3 separate regions of the Homo sapiens genome follow, and regions 2 and 3 are each linked to region 1. Evidence: promoter capture Hi-C in 16 types of primary human blood cells and fetal thymus (Javierre and others, 2016). All regions are on one chromosome and are shown on one strand. The core of a region is centred on a gene start or on the middle of the fragment in contact, and the rest is flanking DNA. Distances in the headings are between cores, read along the strand shown. Region 1 holds the start of HOXB8 (homeobox B8). Region 2 overlaps NFE2L1 (NFE2 like bZIP transcription factor 1). Region 3 holds the start of CBX1 (chromobox 1).

Region 1 (4,855 bases), core at 1,323-3,822:
GCGAGCGAGAGAGAGAGAGAGAAGGGAGACAGAAAGAATTACGGCGTGAATAGGCAGTTTCATGTTGTTGGGAGAACTTAGCAGAAATCGGTACCTTGGTCATTACAAAGAAGCACGTTCAAAGGAAAAAAAAGACAATTGCACAAGGAGGCTTTTTACACGGGGAGGGGAGGGGCATGGGGGGCTCAGCCGGGCCTTTGCCGCTCGCCCTCACAGGGCGAGGGAGCCTTTGCTTAAATCCTTTTCTTTCCCCCCGGCCCCCAAGAGAAGGGAAGGAGATCCACGGTAGCTCACACACAGAAGCTATTACGAGATACTACCACTAGCGGGGACTGGCGCGGCGGGGGACGCTGCGGTGGGAGGCCCGGCTCCTGGCCCCGCTAGCGGGGCCAGAGCTCTCTCGGGCAGGGGCGCGCGGCGGCGGCGCGGCCGGGACCCGCGGACGTGCGGGCGGCCGCGGCCCTGGCAGTCCCAGCTGAAGCCTACTTCTTGTCGCCCTTCTGCGCGTCGCCCTCGTCCGCCGCCTCTGGGGCCCGCTCCAGCTTCTGTTTCTCCAGCTCCTCCTGCTCGCATTTGCTGCTGGGGAACTTGTCTTTGTTGTTCTCTTTTTTCCACTTCATCCTCCGGTTCTGGAACCAGATTTTGACCTGTCTCTCTGTCAGTCCCAGGGCGTGCGATACCTCGATTCGCCGCTTACGAGTCAGATAGGGATTAAATAGGAACTCCTTCTCCAGCTCCAGGGTCTGGTAGCGGCTGTAGGTCTGTCGGCCTCGCCTGCGTCCGGCGGCTGCTGGGAATGGGGGAAAGGGCGAGACAGAGGGGAGGGGAGGGTGGGGGAGGGGGCAGGGACGGAGAAGGTTGGAAGATTCGTGAACGAGCCTGGGAGACCATTATAATAAGGGCAGGGGACCTTCTACCCCGTGCGGGGGCGGGGGGGGCGCAAGAAGGCCGCGGTCGGCGGAGGAGGAGGGGCGAGGGGGATTAGACACAAGTGAATCTAAGGGAGCCAGAAAGGGGAGCCCCCTCCCCCGGTAACCAGCACCAGAGTTGTGTAGGAGGTGGTTCAGATCTATTAGAAGTGCCATAAACTTTAGGAGGAAGGATGTGAAGGAGGGGGGAAAATAAGAATAAAAAAGCCGGGTGGGGACGAATGGACCCACCTTGAAAAGCCCCCAGAGCCTCTGCCCCAGAAGAAAAGTTTCTTCAGGGTAATTAAACTATAAAGCAATTGAGAAGTGCAAAAGTTGAGCGCCCCCACTCCCACCACCCTCTCTTCACTACCCCCCATAAAACAGTAAAAGGGGAAAAAAAGGAGGAGAAGAAGAAGAAAAGTAAGGCAGGATGAGGGGTTTATAGATTCAGGAAATGTTTCTAAGCGACCCCCTTCAAGGGAAAGAAAAAAGAAAGAAGAAAGAAAGATAAGAAAGAAAGGGGAAAAGCGGCAGGCGATCGGAACGGAGCCGGCAAGTCTTCCAGAAGCTGGAGGAAATGCGCCCCGGCCTGCCAGGCCTTGGGCCCTTCCGGCCCCCTCCTGCCCTTGTCGGCCCCGAGGCGAGCTCACCTTGCGGGCGCATCCAGGGGAAGAGCTGTGTGGGCGACGGGCTCTGCTCGGAGCCCTCGGCCTCCTCGCCCAGGCCGCTGGCGGCGGCAAGCTTGCAGTCTGCGTACTGCACCAGGTCTGGATCCTGCGCACCGAATAGGCTCTGGCGTTGCAGCGGGTCGTAGCCGTAGAAATTGCCGGGGTCCCCGTGGCACGCCACGGCGCACGGGTTCTGCTGGTAGGGAGCCGTGGACAGCGACGACGGCCCGTGGTAGAACTCCTGGATTTGCGACGGGTGCTGGAAGCTGCCGCCGCTGCTGGGACCGTACACCACGGTGGGTCGGCCGCCCAGGTCCTGGGCGAAGCCGCAGTCATAATAATTGGGGCGCAGGGACTCCCCGGTTTTGTATTTGGAGAACAGTGAGTTGACGAAATAAGAGCTCATTTTATTGAATTTTGAGGCGGCGGCGGCGGCGGAGGCTATAGTTGGGGGCTGTTGGGGAGGGGGTGGGGAGGGGGAAAGGGAGGGAGAGAGAGAAAAAAACGCGGATTCGCCGGCTCCTAGTCACCCTCGCCAGGAAAGGAGAGGGAAAGAGAGGAGGGAAAAAAAGAAAAGAAAGAAAAGGCGAAGAAGATCTCGAAGCCGACACACTTTTTGTGGTTTCCAGGAATAGAAAAGGACAGAGAAGCCTCCAAAAGTCTAAGCTTGCATGGCAGCCGCGGCTCGCTCGCCCTCCCCCCACCCCCCACCCCCCAAACAAAAATATACCACCACTTAAAGAGGTCCTCGCTTTACATTTCGAAGAAGGGATGCCAGTTCATAAACAGTTTTCGGTGATTTACTTCCCTGCAAATGAGTTGTTTCATATTTTGCACTGTCTTTTCATGATCATTTGCATCCATTAGAGACCCCGCATCCTATTGGCTTCTTCGTACTCCTCCCGGACAGAACGCAGAGCGAGGGTGAGAGCGAGAGAGAGCGAGCGAGAGAGAGAGCTAGAGCGAGAGAGCGCCAGGGAGTGAGGAGAGAGCGGAAAAAAAAAAAGGAGGGGAAGAAAAAAACACCCAGGGAGAGAGAGGGGGAGAGGGGGAGAGAGAGGGGGAGAGGGAGAGGGGGTGAGAGAGAATGAATACGGATTAAATCTGTTTAACTACCTACATTAATGAGATATCTCTCGCCTCACAACAAATCAAATACCTTCGCAGACCACCCCCAAAGACTGATGTGGGGGAGTCACGGAAAAAAACACGCACACACACATACACAACGCGCCAGGCGTAGGCACGCTGTTAATTTCGCGATTTTAACGAGGCAATTGGAGTCTTTCTAAATGTCAGGGTCGCTTCGGAAAAATGTAAAAGAACACGGTTTAATTGCGCCGAGTTTTAAAAGGTCCTATAAATGTAATTGGTATTTTAATACAAGTTATCAAATCATACAGCTTCCTCTCCTAAACGTATTTTCAAACAAACGAGGTAGTCATATTTAAAGCTTTAATGATCAATTTCCTTATTATTGATAAAGGTTTAACTATCGTGTGGAGGGAATTGGCTGGATAACCGGCCCCCCAAAAAACGGCTGTAAACTCTTTAAGAAACTATAAAACGCAATAAAGCCGGAGTCTGTTGTTGTTTATGCCGCAGCGCATAAAAGCTGTTAGCATTTTACGAGTTCTTTCCTCTACAGCTATAAAACTGCAGCTTCGATCGCCCCCGCCGCCCGATTGCAGCACGGTGGGGGTGACGAAGCCGAAATGAGAATGATTATGGGGATTTTTTTTTGGCACAAACGGTGACTTTTCTGAGATTTTCACCTCCTTCCGTCCTGGCAAGCACCTGCCCCCACCCCTTCTCTGGAGCCCCCAAAAGGTCCCTTCTCTGCCCTGCCCTCTCTGCCCTGCCCTGGCCAGTCACAAAACTTCCTCTCATTAAACAAATAAGCAAAAATTTTCTGTGAAACAGGGATCTGGGAGATCTTGAGGAGGGAACGGGAGGGAAGAAGAAACTTTCTGGTTAATGAGCAGTGGTTGAAGCACAGAGCAAAGTTCGAGCTGCCACTGCCGATTCTGCAGGTTTGTGCACTCTCTGCTTGCTGAAAAGGGGGTCTCCTGAAGGCCCTTCAGCCCATCAGCACTTTTGAGGGCAGACTTTGCATGAAGGGAGAGGGCCTGATGCCATCAGAGGGATGAAGCCCCAATGGGCTACCCGACACTTGCACCCAGGCCTTGGGACCCAGTAGCCAAGCCCAATTATTAATAGCTCCCAACCTTCCCAGGCCGACCCCCACACCTTCTGCAGTGCCTAAGGGTGAGAGGGGACCACTGAGCCCATCACTGCATCAAAAGGAAAGAAGGTTGGGTATCAGGCCCTGGCACCTGGCCTTCGTGTCCGCTGTCCTATGCTCTCAGCCACCCTAGGCAGTGCCTGCAGAGTATGTGTTGGGAGGGCATCTATTAGTCCTCAGTGTCCCCAAGACCTTTTGAGCCACTGTCACCACCTAAACTGACTTGGGTGTGGAATTCAGATAAAGCAAGGTTGCTGAGTCTCCCATTTTCTCTCCTTTCGCCTTGGGGAGCCTGTAGTTAAACCTGGCTCTCCCTGCAGACCTGGGAACCAGAGGTCTGAACACGGAAAGCTGGAACAAGCTGACTGGGTGCCACACTCTGTGGCCACTGCGTTCCCTGCCTACCCGGCTTCACGATGGTGGTGGCCAGGCTTTAGAAGGCCCCAGTCTGAGGGTCAGAACCAGTAGCCTCCTGTAGCAGTAGATTGGCAAGGGAGAGGAATGAGAGACAGAAAGAAAATTTTGAGCAACAAAAGTGGAGGCTTTACAAATATATTCAATCCATTGTTTATTCAGGAAACAGTGGTTTGTTTTTTTGACGGGCACCTTTTGGGGACCCCATACACCCCAACATTTGTAAAAATGAAACTATCACTTTTCCAAAGGGAACCTTACCAGTGAGGTCATTTGGTTCTTCAAAAGTGAACCTAGAGAATGAGAGAGGGGCTAGAAGCGGGAGAGAGATAAAGGAAAAGAGGAGGAATGGAGAGAACCAGGGCTTTGAATTTTCAGCGCGTGGCTGAGGGGACCGTGAGGCAACGGAGGGCCGAGTTAAATTGTTGCCGAAGCAAACATTTTTATCAAGTGCAGAGGATTTTATGGTCATTATTTGAAAACTCACCGGCGAGGTACAAATTCAATGGCTTGTTCTAAATCATCTCTACACCGTGCCAGAAATTCCTGATGGAAGGAAAATGTTTCTGTTATAGGAAAAAAAAAAAAAAAAAACGAAAGAGCGAGGAGACAATTTA
Region 2 (4,855 bases), core at 742-3,241, 550 kb before region 1:
GTAGATTTTATTTTTAATTTATCTCTGTGACCTGCCAGGGAGAGGGGAGAGAGAGAGAGATGCTGTTGAGCACATGACAAAATAAAATAAAATGGATGATTCATTCTTAAGTGCACTTTTTCCCCACTTTGAATTTAAATTGAGAATAAAGGAAATGGACTCATTGTAGGGAGGACTGGCCATTGCGTGGCTAAGGCAGAGCTCACATGGGAAGATGGGTGGAGAACTGGGGAGGTTGACAGTGGGGAACTTCAAAAGGCAAGTCTTAAATATTGTATTAAACCTTGGGGGCAGGCATTAGACACCATGTACTTCATAGGGTTAGCCAGCTCAATCCTCTCAGGAAGGATTCGGAGTTTTTTTATTCTCATACAGCTAGGATAGGTGGAGGTGTCATTTAACCCAGCTCTTTACCTGTCCACCTGCTACAAACTACATTTTTAAACTCAACTGTGCTGTTATTTTTCTATTGGCCTCACCTGCCAAAGGGGTGCAGAGAATTGGAGTGTAGTTATGATGTTGAAAACCTGAGAAATCCATGGCAGCGACTAACATGTGACAAGCACTACTGTGTTAAGCAGGAGCAGGGCCACTAAAGAGAAGCAGGAGGCCAAGGTTTAGGACACTGGGAAACCTCCCCAGCTGAGGGGGCTAGAATCTGCTTTCCCTCAAACTGCTCAACTACCCGCCCTGTGAAGAGCTGTAATGTGTGAAGGTCTCTGGGATGCTGGAACTTCCACATGCCCATGTTAGGGCAGGTGTTTAGTAGATGCTGGAAGAATGAACACTCACTCAGCAGTCTTTTTATTGGCAGGGTCTTGCTTTGTCTCCCAGGCTGGAGTGCAGTGACGTGATCTCGGCTCACTGCAACTGCCACTGGGCTCAAGCCATCTTCCCACCTCCGCCTCCTGAATAGCTGGGACTACAGGCGCACGCCACCACGCCTAGGTAATTTTTGTAGAGACAAGCTTTCGCTATATTGCCCAGGCTGGTCTCAAACTCCTGGCATCAAGTGATCCGCCTGCCTCAGCCTCCCAAAGTGCTGGGATTATAGGCGTGAGCCATTGCACCTGGCTTCTGTGAGATTATTGGGCAGGGTTTAGGAGTGGAAGCTATGATCCTCTTAATGGAAGCTGTGATCTCAAACTCCTGGATACCACCCTGTAACCTGGTTCAGCTCAGTCCTTTAGTGATACTACTTCAGTAATGTTTACAATTCAGTAGAATTGTAAGAATAATGATGGTTTCTTATGTTTCAGTTTATAAGAGCCTCTCCACAACTCCCCAGTCTCCAGTTGGAAAGGTTTGGTCATATCAAACAAGAACTCTTTCCTAATTCAGAATTGACTAAAGTCTGTAAGCCAGATAAAACCAAGATACGTAAAGGGGTGAAAAAACCAAGACTAAAAATTAGTTTGAGGCCTGGTGCGGTGGCTCACGCCTATAATCCCAGCACTTTGGGAGGCCGAGGCAGATGGATCACCTGAGGTCAGGAGTTCAAACACGAGCCTAACCAACATGGTAAAACCGTCTCTACTAAAAATACAAAAACTAGGCGGGTGTGGTGGCGGGCGCCTGTAATCCCAGCTACTCAGAGACTGAGGCAGGAGAATCGCTTGAACCCGGGAGGCAGAGGTTTCAGTGAGCCAAGAGCGCGCCATTGCACTCCAGCCTGGACAACAAGAGCAAAACTTCCATCTCAAAAAAAAAAAAGGTTTCAAAAACACATACCAATACTTTAAGAAATACAAATTATATATAGAAGGGTAAACTGTGAGAAGTAAAATTAAGTTTTAATATTCTTGTACCCTTCCTAGAAATGTATGTACAGTCATGTGTTAACGGCCAACATATATTCTGAGAAATGCCTCATTAGACAATTTTGTCATAGTGTACTTACACAAACTTAAATGGTAGTGCCTACTACACACCTAGCCTATGTGCCATATAGCCTATTGCTCCTAGGCTACAAACCTGTACAGCATGTTGCCATACTGAATACTATAGGCAGCTGAAGTACAGTGATAAGTACTTGTGTATCTAAACCTAGAAAAGGCACAATATAGGCTGGGTGCAGTAGCTCAACGCCTGTACTCGCAACAAGACTGTGCAACTGCACTCCAGCCTGGGTGAAAGAGTGAGACCCTGTCTCAAAAAAAAAAAAAATACAGTATAAATAGGGTATTATAATCTTATCAGACCATAATCATATACATGATCTGTCACTCATGAAATATGCAGCACATGACTGTATATGTATTTTTGTTCAGTAATTACACTGTAACTTTTACCTTATTTTGCAACTTTTTTTTAACTTAAAAGACTTAAGAGATTTGAAAAATTCTTCTTAATCCCATTGCTAGTGTTGTCCCTGGTCTGAGTAAGAATATTTTTGTTGGCCAGGCATGGTGGCTCACGCCTGTAATCCTGGCACTTTGGGAGGCTGAGGCAGGTGGATCACGAGGTCAGGAGTTCAAGACCAGGAGTTCGAGACCAGCCTGACCAACATGGTGAAACCCCATCTCTACTAAAAATACAAAAATTAGCCGGGCATGGTGGCACGTGCCTGTAATCCTAGCTACTCAGGAGGCTGAGGCAGGAGAATGGCTTGAACCCGGGAGGCGGAGGTTGCAGTGAGCCAAGATCATGCCATTGCACTCCAGCCTGTGTGACAAAGCGAGACTCTGTCTCAAAAAAAAAGGAGTATTTTTGTTAGCAGCCCCTCCCCCTTAGAGATATGTACAGTTTTGTCTAGGATCGTGCTGATTAGCTGGGGCATGGGGCCAAGTTGGTCAGCACTGCTGTGGGGCTGACCTCTTTCTGCTGGCAGGTAGAGTGGGTGTTCCAGCCTCTTTCTGGCAGGAAGATAGGAGGACTGAAGTAAGGCCTGTGGAAGGGCTGCTACCACTAGCCATCTACCTAAGGCAGGAAGTGAGAAGATGTCCTAAGCCGAACAGGACTTAGGCTTAACAAAGGACCAAACTCTTCAGGGTGACTGACTTGGGTGGGTGTGGGAAAGCTTACTTTGTCTTGACTTCAGCAGTTGCAGGCTTCATTCAAACTGATTTTTTTCTCACATCTTACTCATGTTAAGGAGATGGAAATAGGCCCATATTTTCAACCTCTGCCCTGCATAGATCTCACCAATGAAGGTGGGGCTGTTTCAGTATCAATAAAAATAGCATAGTGAACTATAGAGGGAAAATCGTGATCTAGAGACATGCTTCAGTGTCATCAAGACTGGCCTCCATAGCTGACATTTCCCCACCTTTACTGGGGAAAGCTGAGTAATAATTAGTCCAACAGTCTGGTGAACAGGGAGGTACTTTTCATAGAGCCCTGTCAAGCTGGCCTCATCCCTGCTTTTATAACCCCCAGCTAAACCAAACCTTGCTGCCCCTCTTCACGTTTGCTTGGTAAACAGTTCCTTGTGGAAAAAAACAACATCCCCACTATCCTCAAGTCCGCCACCTACCTCATCCTGTAGGCACTGACCAAGAGCAACAACTTTAGAAGCTCACGCTAAATATAGTTTAGGGCACACCATGGTGAACAGGTGGACAGCAAGAAGCCTGTTTCCATATTGGTGTACCATATGTATACAAACACAGGTACTAGATTGGTGTCTGCTTCTGAGTCATTTTCCCAGCCAAGTATAGAAATTTTGTAGCAAAACCCATGTGCTTCATGATCATGAGTAGTTAAGCCTTGTTTTTCTATCAAAGATCCCCGTTAAGTGAAAGGGACCCACAAACCTTCAACTTGTCATTTTGTCAATATACCAAAAATAACCTTTCTTTTTACCTTTACTGTATTACACAGAAGTCAATCATCTTCCTTGCCTCCCGCTCTGAACTTTGGAGTGGAGAATGAGCCATTTGGGGACTATGGGGAAACTTACCACTATGTGTGAAACTTTACAAGTTCTAGTCCTTGTTCTGTTCAGTTCGTGTCTGCCTGAATTAGCCGAGAAACAGAATTTAGTACACGTATTGTCTCTGGAGTAGTGTGAGAATCTGGTACCTTGCAGAAGAGGGCTGTTTTCAAAAATTAGCTGGATAGAAGTCTTTGTCTTCCCTTTTGAATACACCATACCAACAAAGGTCTTAAAGCTGTTTTTTTTTTTTTTTGAGACGGAGTCTTGCCCTGTCACCCAGGCTGGAGTGTAGTGGCGCAATCTTGGCTCACTGCAAGCTCCGCCTTCTGGGTTCACGCCATTCTCCTGCCTCAGCCTGCCAAGTAGCTGGGACTACAGGCGCCCGCCACTGCGCCCAGCTAATTTTTTTGTATTTTTAGTAGAGATGGGGTTTCACCATGTTAGCCAGGATGGTCTTGATCTCCTGACCTCATGATCCGCCCGCCTTGGCCTCCCAAAGTGATGGGATTACAGGCGTGAGCCATCGCGCCCAGCCTGCTGTTTTGGTTTTTTTTTTGGAGACAGGATCTAGCTTTGTCACCCACGCTGGAGTGCAGTGGCGCGATCTTGGCTCACTGTAATACTGCCTCTAGGCTCAAGCTATTCTCCCACCTCAGCCTCCTGGTAGCTGGCATACAGGCGTGCATCACCATGCCCGGCTAATTTTTGTATTTTGGGTTTCGCCATGTTGTCCAGTCTGGTCTTGAACTCCTGAGTTCAAGCGATCTGTCCGCCTCAGCCTCCAAAGTGCTGGGATTACAGGTGTGAGCCACTGCGCCCAGTCCTAAAGCTGCTTCTTTTCCAGCCTAACTTAAACTGCAGAATGGAGATAGGTTGCACAGTATTTTTTACTTAATTCTAGATGCTCTTCAACTAAGGAAACAAAAAATCTAGTTCACCTGGGGAGAGGTGGAGAATAGACCAAGGAGTTGGCATTCT
Region 3 (4,855 bases), core at 1,084-3,583, 510 kb before region 1:
GGGCTGGAGTGCAGTGGTGCAGATCTCGGCTCACTGCAACCTCTGCCTCCCGGGTTCAAGCGATTCTCCTGCCTCAGCCTCCCGAGTAGCTGGGACTACAGGCATGCGCCACTAGGCCCAGCTAATTTTGTATTTTTAGTAGAGACAGGGTTTCACCATGTTGGTTGGCCAGGATGGTCTCGATCTCTTGACCTCATGATCCGCCCACCTCAGACTCCCAAAGTGCTGGGATGACAGGCTTGAGCCACTGCGCCCGACCCTACTATTTATTTTTTTAATGAGAAACAATTTAGGATACAGCAGCCATTGAAGAAAAATATCACCACAGGGAAAACCGTAAACGACTTCAGGTCCTCCACTCCCGTGAAGCTTCATTAAGGTGCCACCGGTTTCAATACAAGTGCTTTTCAATCACACCACTTTCATATAAAAGTCTATAAGGCACCTAGGGAGGAACACCGGCATTAATTTCCCCATTGTATTCCTGAATCTATTCCAAAGCCTTGGACCTTTCACAATCTTTCCAAACTGCTGATGTGACTCTTAACACAATTGAGGAGGCTACTTTACCCTGGGCTAGGGGTTCTAGTATATAACTGATTATAGCTGAACTTTTTGTAAATTCCACCTCAATTGCGTTAAACCAACACGTCTAAATGTAACACCAATTTATGAAAAACCCTCATTTGAAACTTTGAAAAAGAGGTAAAATATGGCCAGGCGCAGTGGCTCACGCCTATAATCCCAGCACTTTGGGAGGCCGACGCGGGAGGATCACGAGGTCAGGAGTTCGAGACCAGCGTGACCAGTACGGTGAAACCCCGTCTCTACTAAAAATACAAAAATTAGCCGGGCGTGGTGGCGTGTGCCTGTAATCCCAGCTAGTCGGGAGGCTGAGGCAAGAGAATCGCATGAATCCGGGAGGTGGAGGTTGCAGTGAGCCAAGATCGCACCACTGCACTCCAGCCTGGGCAACAGAGGAAGACTCTTCTCAAAAAAAAAAAAAAAAAGAGGTAAAATATAGCTCACTCTATTCAAATTTTCCAACAAGGAAAAGCTGGCTAAAAACAGAAGGGCCCACGAAACAAATATTACCTCACAATCTCACATAATTTTCCTATGTCTCCCAATTTCTCGCACCTCACACGATCTCACAATCTCTCACTACCTCACGCCGTTCCTCAACTATTAACTCATCTACATATTTTTACAATTTCATCACCTTTGTGAGACCAGTTACGATCCCACACAAAAACGTACGGAACTAATTTTGAATCAAAGCAAGAACTGCACTTGGACTTTTTTAACTCCCCAAAGGAATCATGGAGTGAAGGTAGTAGGAAACCTGGAAAACTGAAAAAAGCGTATTCCATCCTTTCTTCGCACATTATTCTTACAGCCTCCCCACTGTAAGGACCCATCAGGATGCAAGGGCGGCCTGCTTTCCCCTTTTTTCTTACATACCTTATAGAAATATTCTCGGGATCTCCGCCCTACTTATCCTAACAGCTCCTCCCCTTCCAGAGTCAGGCCCAGCAAACGCCTGCCCCTCCCCCTCCGTGTCCCCTTTCCCAATTTATTCCACACATCTCCTCCTCCAATCAGCACACCTTGTGCGGCCCTGGGCCCTCTTCCAATTCACTCGACGTTACTCCTCCGTAGTCCTGCAAAGCCAGGTTCCTCTGGCAGTCCCAGCCGGACCCGGCGTCTTCCGAATACAGTTACAAACCTCGGGTTGTGCGGTCGTATGCGCCTCCTCACGCCTATCCAAGCCTCAAGCCTGTCCCCTTCCGCCCTATCCCGCAGCCGCCCAGCCAAGCAACATTGTTCCAGACCACCCGGGCCCCGAAGAGCGGCCCCCAAGTGCTCGGCCCACCCCCAAGCACTCAGTCTCTGGCTCAGGATTCGCGCCCCGCCCTCTCCATCCTTCACGCAGCTGGCACCGACGCCTCAGCGACAGGCGAAGAGCTCAGCGCGGGAAGCGGAGAAGCAGGACGCTGGACCCGGGCGCGCTCCCCGCTCCTAACCTCCGCCTCGAAAGCGCGTTCCCTCACGCAGGGCTCCCGCCGCCGCCGCCGCCGCGCCCCCTCCCCCAGCTCTCCCGCCTCCAGCGGGCTCCTCACCTCAGAGCAGCGCCCAAGAGCCCGAGAGGAATCGGTGCTGCGCTGCTGGCGCGTCGCGTCGGGTCGCCTGGGGGAGTGGCGCCCAGGAAGGCAGCAAGCCGGGTGGCCGCAGTGGCGTCCCTCACTGAAGCGGCGTACCGCAGGCCCCGGCCAACGGCCCTCCCCTCAGCCGAACAAAAGAGCCTCGCAGTCTGCGCTGCCCGCCGCTCGCACCGCGCAGGCGCAACGACCCGCCGCACGGCACCATGGGCCTCGGGGGTCTGTCCAAGACTACAAGGCCCGAAGCGCCGCGCGCCGCGCACGCACAGTAGGCGAGGGTGGTAGGGACTTATAGTTTTTAAACTGTAACGGTGGAGAGATTGCAGCGTAGAGCGTTGTAACCTAGAATATTAGAACATATGGGCCAGGGGCAGTCGCTCACGCCTGTCATCCCAGCACTTTGGGAGGCCGAGGCGGGTGGATCACCTGAGGTCAGGGGTTCGAGACCAGTCTTACCAACAAGGTGAAACCCTGTCTCTACTAAAAATGCAAAAATTAGCCGAGCGTGGTGGCAGGTGCCTGTAGTCCCAGCTACTCAGGAGGCTGAGACAAGAATTGCTTGAACTTGGGAGGCGGAGCTTGCAGTGAGCCGAGATCCAGCCACTGCGATCCAGCCTGGGCGATGGAGCGAGACTCCATCTCAAAAAAAAAAAAAAAAAAAAATTAGAACATATGATTTTTATAAGCGAGCCCCCTGATGCTTGGCCCCCAAAAAATCAACCACTTCTGGACAGTTCTGTAATTCACATCCTCAAAATTTTTGAATCTTAGATTCTTCACCAGAACTTTATCATATCGCCGCTGCCTCAAATTTCCAATGATTTCTTAGTCCTCAATCTCTGCCTCCTCAAATCTCTGTAAAATTCCTACTCACGCCGGCACGGTGGCTCAAGCCTATAATCCCAACACTTGGGGAGGCGGAGGTGGGTGGATCACTTGAGGTCAGGGTTTCAAGACCAGCCTGGCCAACATGGTGAAACCCCATCTCTACTAAAATACAAAAATTAGCTGGGCGTCGTGGCGGGCGCCTGTAGTGCCAGCTACTCGGGAGGCTGAGGGAGGAGAATCGCTTGAACCCAGGAGGTGGAGGTTACAGTGAGCCGAGATCGCGCCATTGCACTCCAGCCTGGGCAACAAGAGCGAAACTTCGTCTAAAAAAAAAAATACTGTTCAGTGTTAAGATTACTTCCCCTTTGAGGTCTTCCCTGATTCCCTAGAGTAGGTTAGGTCCCCCCATAGGCCTCTCATAGCTTCCTGAATTTCCCCCTTTTCACTGGCTGCGCCACAAAAATGTCCTCTTTTTCATTGTAAGTTGTGCTCACCTTTTTCAGTGTCATTAATCTCCGTCAGCACCTTTCACCCAATCATCCCAAGGAAACACACAATTAGGAAAAAAACATGTTTTTAAGCCACAATATAACTAAAGTTTTATTTTTTTATTTTAAAGTATCCTTCTAATCAGGAGGAAGAGGGAAACTCTATTGCACTCTACCCCAAAAGGCAAGAGTTTGCATTTATAAGACAGTTTTGCTGATGCAGGCACTGTTCAGGGCAGGAGTTTGCATTTATAAGACAGTTTTGCTGATGCAGGCACTGTTCACGGCTCTGGAGAACTGTCATGTAAGAAAAACCCAGCCCAGCAATATCATAATAGAGTTTAGTTAAAAGGGCTTCAAGAAAGCACAGAGAAGATGAGAGGTGAAGCCAGCTGGACTTCCTGGGTCGAGTGGGGACTTGGAGAACTTTTCTGTCTTACAAGAGGATTGTGAAATGCACCAATCAGCGCTCTATACCTAGCAAGGGGATTGTAAAATATACCAATCAGCACTCTGTAAAAACACACCAATCAGCCCTCTGTAGCTAGCAAGAGGATTGTAAAATGCACCAATCAGCACTCTGCAAAATGCACCAATCAGCGCTCTGTAAAATGCAGGAATCTAAAAGTAGCCAATCACAGGGAGGATTGAAAAAAGGGCACTCTGATAGGACAGAAATAGCAAATGGGCAGGGACAAACAAGGGTGTAAAAGCTGGCCCCCTGCCCCCCACCCATTCCTGTTAGCCCGCAGCAGCAACCTGCTCAGGTCGGTTTCCACGCTATGGAAGCCTTGTTCTTTCGCGTTCTTTCGCTCTTCACAACAAATCTTGCTGCTGCTCACTCTTTGGGTCCCTGCCAGCTTTAAGAGCTGTTTTTAACACCATGAAGGTCCGCGGCTTCATTGTTTAAGTCAGGGAGACCACAAACCCACCGGAAGGAATCAACTCCGGACACAAAGAGAGCAATTCTTCCTGAAACATTTGGGCTGGGTTTCTAGGAAGAAGCAAGTGAGAAGCAAGCATCTCCTCACTTCCTCCTGTAGTGTACTGTTTTTGACTGATGATGATGAGAAAATTAGTTGTAATGATAATTAGCTACTATTAATGAGTGCTTTTTTTGTTTTTTTTCCCTGAGGTGGAGTCTTGCACTGTCGCCCAGGCTGGAGTGCAATGGCAAGATCACGGCTCACTGCAACCTCCGCCTCCCGGGTTCATGCACTTCTCCTGCCTCAGCCTCCCAAGTAACTGGGATTACAAGTGCATGCCACCATGCACAGCTAATTTTTTTGTATTTTAGTAGAGACGGGGGTTTCACCATGTTGCCCAGGCTGGTCTTGAACTCCTGAGTTCAGGCATCCACCCGCCCAAAGTGCTAAG

Evidence for each region. The method cuts DNA at HindIII sites, captures the fragments that hold promoters and counts their contacts. A CHiCAGO score of 5 or more calls a contact.
Region 2: a contact is called between a fragment that was not itself captured here and the fragment with the promoter of HOXB8 in region 1, in 6 of 17 cell types (naive CD4 T cells, megakaryocytes, total CD4 T cells and 3 more). The highest score is 5.9, in naive CD4 T cells.
Region 3: the fragment with the promoter of CBX1 here is called in contact with the fragment with the promoter of HOXB8 in region 1 in 5 of 17 cell types (megakaryocytes, naive CD4 T cells, erythroblasts and 2 more); the score reaches 6.2 in megakaryocytes.

The regions. Positions count from the first base shown.
Region 1 is chr17:48,612,720-48,617,574 of GRCh38, forward strand. It overlaps HOXB8 (homeobox B8), which reads right to left and starts at 2,573. Exons shown (of 2, transcript NM_024016.4): 1 at 1,562-2,573; 2 at 1-790. The coding sequence starts at 1,985. The coding sequence ends at 483. RefSeq lists an enhancer at 4,791-4,855. The HindIII fragment of the contact is 787 bases long and covers 2,244-3,030 here.
Region 2 is chr17:48,061,378-48,066,232 of GRCh38, forward strand. It overlaps NFE2L1 (NFE2 like bZIP transcription factor 1), which reads left to right. Exons shown (of 6, transcript NM_003204.3): 6 at 1-168. Among named protein-coding and RNA genes, the nearest start is that of NFE2L1, 15 kb to the left of the region's middle. The HindIII fragment of the contact is 2,051 bases long and covers 967-3,017 here.
Region 3 is chr17:48,099,145-48,103,999 of GRCh38, forward strand. CBX1 (chromobox 1) reads right to left here and starts at 2,334. Exons shown (of 5, transcript NM_001127228.2): 1 at 2,124-2,334. RefSeq lists enhancers at 2,067-2,666, 2,493-2,752 and a silencer at 2,073-2,122. The HindIII fragment of the contact is 8,551 bases long and covers 368-4,855 here.